2 separate regions of the Homo sapiens genome follow, and region 1 is linked to region 2. The links are contacts of gene promoters, found by promoter capture Hi-C in blood cells and fetal thymus (Javierre and others, 2016). All regions are on one chromosome and are shown on one strand. The core of a region is centred on a gene start or on the middle of the fragment in contact, and the rest is flanking DNA. Distances in the headings are between cores, read along the strand shown.

Region 1 (3,313 bases), core at 99-2,598, 1.1 Mb before region 2:
GGGCACAAGCGTCCTTCCTGGCCTTTAGGAAGCTTTCAAGGTGCAGGTGTCCTCCAAGGTGCAGGTGTCCTCCAGCGGAGTGTCCCCTCCGTGAGGTGCCTCCCAGCACAGGTGTTCCCCTCGGCGCAGGCGTCCCCCCGGTAAAGGGTCCCTCCTGGCAGAGGTGTCTGCCCGGCAGAGGTGTCTCCCTGGCGCAGGTGTCTCCGTGGGTGCTGATGTTCCCCGCAGTAGGGTGTCCCCCCGCTCGGCGGAGAGGCTCACAGCGGAGCCAGCGCCAGGGGAAGGCAGTCAGAAAGGCCCTGGTAGGGGCTGGACCTGGGTCTCTGTTTATGGTCTCTGAGTTCCTCTTTGGCTTCTGTGACCCAAAATCTTTAGTCTTCAGGCTGGGATGGAAGCCTCTGCGGTGCGTTTTTTAACTCCAGATTTTCCCCTTTTCCACATGAGTAGCTTTATTCTGACTCCAAGGCGAGCCCTGCTTCACAGCTCTCCACTCACATTGCCTTGGCTTCCACCCACAGCGTGACAGACTTCACTCCAGCCTTAAGATGGGCGCAGCCACCTCACCGCGTGCCCCAGCAGAGCGGCTGGGGGTCCACTTCTTGGGTTATTATCCAGCCCTATAATCAAAATCATACAGGCTTTAATGTCAATGGAAATGCTGATGATAATGTCCAAACAAAATAAGAAAACAAAAGTGTGCACCTACAAAGTCATATAAGCAGTGGAATCTTAGCTTTAAAAGAAACTCAAAGGGAAAAAACTGGAAGGAAACAAGCCCTGTTGGAGGGAGTTGCCCCTGAGTGTCGGGATTTAAGGGGAGTTGTCCCTGGGTGGCGGGATTTAAGGGGAGTTGCCCCTGAGTGGTGGGATATAGCGGGGGTTACCCCTGAGTGGTGGGATTTACGGGAAGTTGTCCCTGGATTGTGAGATTTAAGGGAAGTTGCCCCTGGGTAGCAAGATTTAAGAGGAGTTGCCCATAGATGATGGGATTTAAGGGGAGTTGCCTCTGGCATCTTTGTATTTTTGTCCTGTCCAGATTTTCTACGTTGGTATGCCAAATTTCATAATCAGAAAATAAAGAGAAAGGAAAGGTTGCAATGTAGGTCCAGATGAAAAAGGAGAAGAGAGGTGTCTGAAAGCATGTGGGCATGGAGAATGAAAAATTCCAGGAGAAGGTGAATCTTTTTAATATTCATGAAGATGAAAATCAGACAGCTGAAGTCAAGGGGAACAGGTGTATCGGATTCCCTCATTGACTGATGCTCACCAAGCAGCTGTGTTAGCTCCCCGAGGAGGACGATGGTGGAGGGAGCATGGAAGGCAGGCTTGCCTGGCATCTGAGCACCTGTGGTCTGCACGGGGCCTGCATAAAGGAGGGAAGCATGATGTTTTCTAGGACAGTTAAAAAAGGGGGAAATGGGGTTTTGGATACCCAAGACAATAATGACTTTTTCTTTTTTTTTCTTTTTTTTTTTTTTGAGACGGAGTCTCGCTCTGTCGCCCAGGCTGGAGTGCAGTGGCGCGATCTCGGCTGACTGCAAGCTCCGCCTCCGGGGTTCACGCCAGTCTCCTGCCTCAGCCTCCCGAGTAGCTGGGACTACAGGCACCCACCAACATGCCCAGCTAATTTTTTTGTGTGTATTTTTAGTAGATACAGGGTTTCACCATGTTAGCCAGGATGGTCTCGATCTCCTGACCTCGTGATCCACCCGCCTCGGCCTGCCAAAGTGCTGGGATTACAGGCGTGAGCCACCGGGCCTGGCTGACTATTGTCACTTTTATAGGGTGGGAATTGTGGGGCTTGTGCTGGGCCTCCAGCTGTGGTACCTGGTCGGGGGAGTTGTCCACGCTGTATTTGTCTTCACTGAGGGTCCTGGTGCAGCTGCCCACAGGCCTGGCCAAGGTGCTGGGGGAAAGCTCCCGAAATGAGAAACCAGCCCTGTCTTGGGGAGAGATGTGCCTTTGAGGCTGACATCTACATGCTGGGTGGTCTGGGACCCACATCTAGAATCTTCGCAATGTCCATGTCTCTCATGCCTGTGAAACGCCCCTGCTCTCCCCTTAAAGGTATAACTTCTGCATGTTTGTGTTACGAAGGTTTGTTTATCTTATCAAGGAGTTCCTCATCCTAGTTCAGCTTTCTTTGAGGTTTCCTGGATTAATGATCTCAGAGGCTCTGCTTGTAGCTCCACTGTGATCACCTGATAGTTTGGGGGAGGTTTTGTACCTAACATTTCTACCGTCCTAACAACTCCTGCAGTGCACAGAGAACACCCCTAGCATGAACAGTGTGAGGATTCCACCAGCTTTTTCACCATGAAGGAGACAGACCGGGAGGCCGTTGCGACAGCAGTGCAAAGGGTTGCTGGGATGCTCCAGCGCCCGGACCAGCTGGACAAGGTGGAGCAGTATCGCAGGAGAGAAGCGCGGAAGAAGGCCTCCGTGGAGGCCAGATTGAAGGTGAGGCCACCTGCCCCACTCCCAGGATCTGTCTTGGGCTTCAGGTTCTTGCTTGACATCACCATGATGATTTTGCTAAACTAGCCTTTATGGTAATGTGCAAGGAGGCAGAGCTGGACTTTCTTGAGCAGTTACTTTCAGCAGTGTATTACCACTCAGTAGCTTTGCTTAGAAGACAGTGGGAATGGTGAAAACACCAAAGGAACAAGCTTTTAAACACCCTGAGGCCGGGTGCGGTGACTCATGCCTGTAATCCCAGCACCTCGGGGAGGCCGAGGCAGGCGGATCACCTGAGGTCAGGAGTTCAAGACCAGCCTGGTCAACATGGTGAAACCCTGTCTCTATGAAAATACAAAAATTAGCCAGGCATGATGGTTGACGCCTGTAATCCCAGCTACTTGGGAGGCTGAGGCAAGAGAATCGCTTGAACCCAGGAGGCAGAGGTTGCGGTGAGCCGAGATGGTGCCATTGCATTCCAGCCTGGGCAACAGAGTGAGACTCTGTCTCAAAAAGAAAAAAAAAACACAGAAACAAAAACAACACCCTGAAAGTGTCTATTAAGTTTTTAAACAATACTGGAGGAAGGAGAAGTAGTCTTATTTAAAGCTCTTCTACAGAGCACCACTAGAGGGCATTTTGTTCAGATTGTTTTAACTCACATTTGACAGAGAGCGGATCTGAAGCTCAGGTGCCGATTCTGTCCTGTGGGTCAGCCGTCCTGGGGCCAAGTGTGGTGCTGGCTGAACAGCAGGAACTCCCCCACCCCAAGCCAGTGAAGTCCTGACCGTTCTCTCTGCCTAGACAAGACCTTTTAGGAACCTAGGATGCCTGGGAGAGCATGGGTGACATCCTT
Region 2 (3,456 bases), core at 266-2,765:
ACACAGGGAGACGGGGGCCAGGGCCTGGGAGCCAGGCTGGGGACGACCTCACCCTGTGTGTCACCAGGAGGGGCGGCACCATCGGGCTCTCCTGCTCCCCGTCCCCTTCCATACCCTGAGGACCAGCCGCATCAAGGGGCTTTGAGCAAAAGCAGGCGTCCTGGGAAAATGACAAGCTCAAACTGGCCTCAAGAACTTTTCACTTCAGGGTTCTTTCAGATAAAGTACTTTATGCATTAACAAATCTCCATCTTCCCGGAAATCTATTCTCACAATTGGAAGCGTGCTCCCTACAAACCGGACAGCCCCATAGGCCCCGAAACAGTGCTTGCTTCTAGGAATTATTCTAGAGTCAAAAGTAAGGTCCTCTTGAGAGTGGATCTCAGGTAACTGTAAGCCCAGCTGGCAGCCAGGTAGCCGGAAAAGCCAGGCTGAGCCAGCACATCCCCGGTGCAGCTTCCTGCAGCGAGCGGCCCCCTCCCCACGACGCCCCCGGGTCTCCCCTCACCACTGTCCCATCGCAGGATCTCAGCAAACCGTTCCCTCCCACGTGGCAGCCCAGGTTGCATAAAGTTGATTCGGGTCAGACCAGCCCCGAGAAAGCATCCCTTACAACAGGAGCGAAGCATGCACCCCAGAAGGCAACGTGCGGCCGCAGAGCAGGGAGACCCGTGCGCCTACAGGGGACCCTACAGGGGACCCGCACCGCCCGCGCGCCCTGTCCCGGGCACCACCAGGCCCCGCACACGAGGCTCACCCAGAGCCGCGGTGCCCTCCCGCCCGCGGGCCGCGTCCAGGCAAAGCCGCTCCGGAGTCCCCGGGCTGCGCGCAGGGCCTGCCAAGGCGGGCGGGGCCCGGACCAGGGACGAGCGCGGGGACCGGCGATGCGGGTCCAGCCTCCCGCGGGAGCCGAGGTCGGGGCTCTGGGAGGCAGAGAAAGGGTTGTGGGCCCGGTTCAGGGTGCAGGGGTCTGGGGGGAGGAGCAGAACGCGGGGCGGGGATGGGAAGCGGGGACCCCGAGGAAGGCGCTGAGGGACCAGGATGCGCGTGCGGGCGGCGGGAAGCCGGCGCCGAGACCGAGGCATCGGGTGCGGGCGGCGGGGACGCGAACTGAGGGGCGGCCGCGGGGAGGGAAGGCGCCGCGGCTCGCAGGGCCGCGCCGCGCCCCAGGCCCCCTCCCCGGCCCCTCCTCGGCCGCGCCTCCCTGGCCCCAGCATCCCTGGCGTCCGCGCCGGCTCCCGGGGCCGCGCGCCCTGGGCACCCACCTGGGCCTTCTGCAGGGCGCTGAGGCGCAGCTCGTGCACGAAGGGGTTCCGCCCCGGGGGCGCCAGCAGCCGAGCGTCGCTGGCCCCTGCGCTGGAGGCAGGGGCGGCCCGGGGTCCGCATCCCCGCAGCCTCATGGCCGCGCCGTCCCGCGGCGAGCGCAGCCGAGCTGCCTGGGGCGCCGAGCGGGGCCGGGGCTAGCTGGGCGCGGGTCTCGGGGCGCGGGCCGAGGATGCGCGGCGGCTGGAGCGGGCCGGGCGCGCAGGCGCGGGAGGTGACGTGGGCGGAGCGGGAGCGCCGGCCGGGGCGGGGCGTCCCTGGAAGCCTCGCCTCCCGCCGGCCGGCAGGGGCGGCACCAGCCGGAGTTCCGCTACCTGGTGGTTTCTCTGGGGTCTGTGGGGGGCCGGGGCCGCTGGGGACCGGGGGCGCCTCCTGCAGCCACTGGAGCACAGGGATCCCCGGCAGGGTCTGCGCCAGGAGAAAGGGAGGTCCCCCGGGCCCGCGAGGCTGCCACGTCGTCCCCTTCCGCCGCTCGGCCCGCCTGCTCGCGGGGAGGGAGGAAGGGGCGGGCACGCGTCCAGCTTACGCGCAAGGCGGGCCAGGCCCTGGGTGCCGAGCCCCGGGCTGTTCCGGCGAAGGCCCCACGCCATTCTTCTTATTCGTTGGGCTCCTAGCTCGCACCGGCGACCCTGGAAGCTGCCCCGGGCTGAGGGAGCTTCTTCCAGCCGCGCCTCAGCCCAGGCGACTCCCGCCTGAGGTCCACTCGACCTTAGGACCCCCCAGACCTCGGGATCCCCTCAGATCTCAGGACCCCTCAAGCCTCAGGACCCCCTCAGACCTCAGGACCCCTCCGATCTCAGGACCTCTCAGGCCTCAGGCCCCGCAGGGATGGCCCAGGCAGGAGGCGCACATAGGGGCCCTGACTGTCCGTGCTGGTTGTGCAGGGGCTGCGATGAGATCCCAGCGCTTTCTCACCCGTAGCTGCTTTGGCTCGGGCATTGCCCTTGTGGTGCTCAGGAGCCGTGTGAGGAGCCCCAGGGTGGGGCCCATAATTAGCCGGAGCGAGAGTAGGATGGGCTCCTGCCTCCGGGTGAACACGCTTGGATTTCAGAACTCACGCAGGCCTTCGGTCACAGTGCTCACGGCTTCCTCACCCCGGCTGGCCCTGTTGGTTCCTTCATGGCCAACGGACCTCACCCAGACAGAGCCGGTTTGGGCCACCTGGCCAACCCCCCAGGGTCCTGGCTCCTGGGGATGTCACTGCTGTGTTGGCCCCAGCTGGGCCCCATCCTCAGCAGACGCCAGGGAGTGCCCCGACCCCTCCAATGACCCTGCCTGCGCCCTTGTGGACCTCATAGTGCAGCGGGCTGGCAGAGACCCTTCTGTGTCTGAGACCGGGGTGAGGGCCAGGGGTCTGTGCCATCCACATATCATGCACAGAGAAGGCCCCGGCAGGCCAGACCCGCTGCATGGCCTTATTCCTGCCCCATAAGAGTCCCAGCCCATATTCCTGCCCCATAAGAGTCCCAGCCCATGCCTAGCAGCAGCACCTGTCCCAAGTGCCACACCCACGGGGATGGGGTGAGCCCTGTGTGCTGGTGGGCATTGGTGGCTCTGTGGCCCAGCCACCAGCGTTGCACCCACCTCCTGGGCTTTTAGTGGCCACTTGCTCTGATCCCCAAAACCAGAGCCCAGCACCCGAGGCCACCCAAGGCTCCTCACCGAACTGATCATCAAGAAAGCCCAGGACACAAAGCCTGCCAGCCACAGGGCAGCACCTGCACCCCAGCGATCCAGGCGGCCCCACCTGCTGCCTGAGTGCTCTGGAGAGGAGGGGCCCTAGGGTGTCCCAGTCCTGGGATGAGAGCAGCCTCAGGACTGGACTTGGAGAGCCATGAAAGTGGGGTCCTCCCAGAAGCACAGGCCAGGAAGCGGTGTGTGGCGGAGGGGAAACCTGCTGGAGATGGTGCAGAGCCAGATTCAATGGGGAGAGCTGCCAGAGAGTCATGGCTGTGTCCCCAGAAGATGCAAAAGTCCTAACCCACAGCACCTGTGGCCGCGACCTTATTTGGAAACAGGGTCTTTGCAGATGATCAGGTTAAGAGGAAGTCATTAGGGTGGGCCCTAGTCTGAAATGGCTTGTGTCCCTATAGAGAGGGAGATTCGGTCTCAGAGACAGACACAGAGAGAGCT

Evidence for each region. The method cuts DNA at HindIII sites, captures the fragments that hold promoters and counts their contacts. A CHiCAGO score of 5 or more calls a contact.
Region 1: a contact is called between a fragment that was not itself captured here and the fragment with the promoter of LPCAT1 in region 2, in 1 of 17 cell types (neutrophils). The highest score is 5.9, in neutrophils.

What each region holds. Positions count from the first base shown.
Region 1 is chr5:443,890-447,202 of GRCh38, forward strand. EXOC3 (exocyst complex component 3) reads left to right here. Exons shown (of 13, transcript NM_007277.5): 2 at 2,261-2,460. The coding sequence starts at 2,317. It overlaps LOC124900930 (a long non-coding RNA gene), which reads left to right and starts at 2,932. Exons shown (of 2, transcript XR_007058671.1): 1 at 2,932-3,313. RefSeq lists an enhancer at 3,133-3,212. The HindIII fragment of the contact is 2,637 bases long and covers 31-2,667 here.
Region 2 is chr5:1,522,445-1,525,900 of GRCh38, forward strand. LPCAT1 (lysophosphatidylcholine acyltransferase 1) reads right to left here and starts at 1,516. Exons shown (of 14, transcript NM_024830.5): 1 at 1,266-1,516. The coding sequence starts at 1,400. RefSeq lists silencers at 704-903, 1,174-1,483, 1,504-1,903 and a cis regulatory region at 2,673-2,908. The HindIII fragment of the contact is 5,602 bases long and covers 1-3,456 here.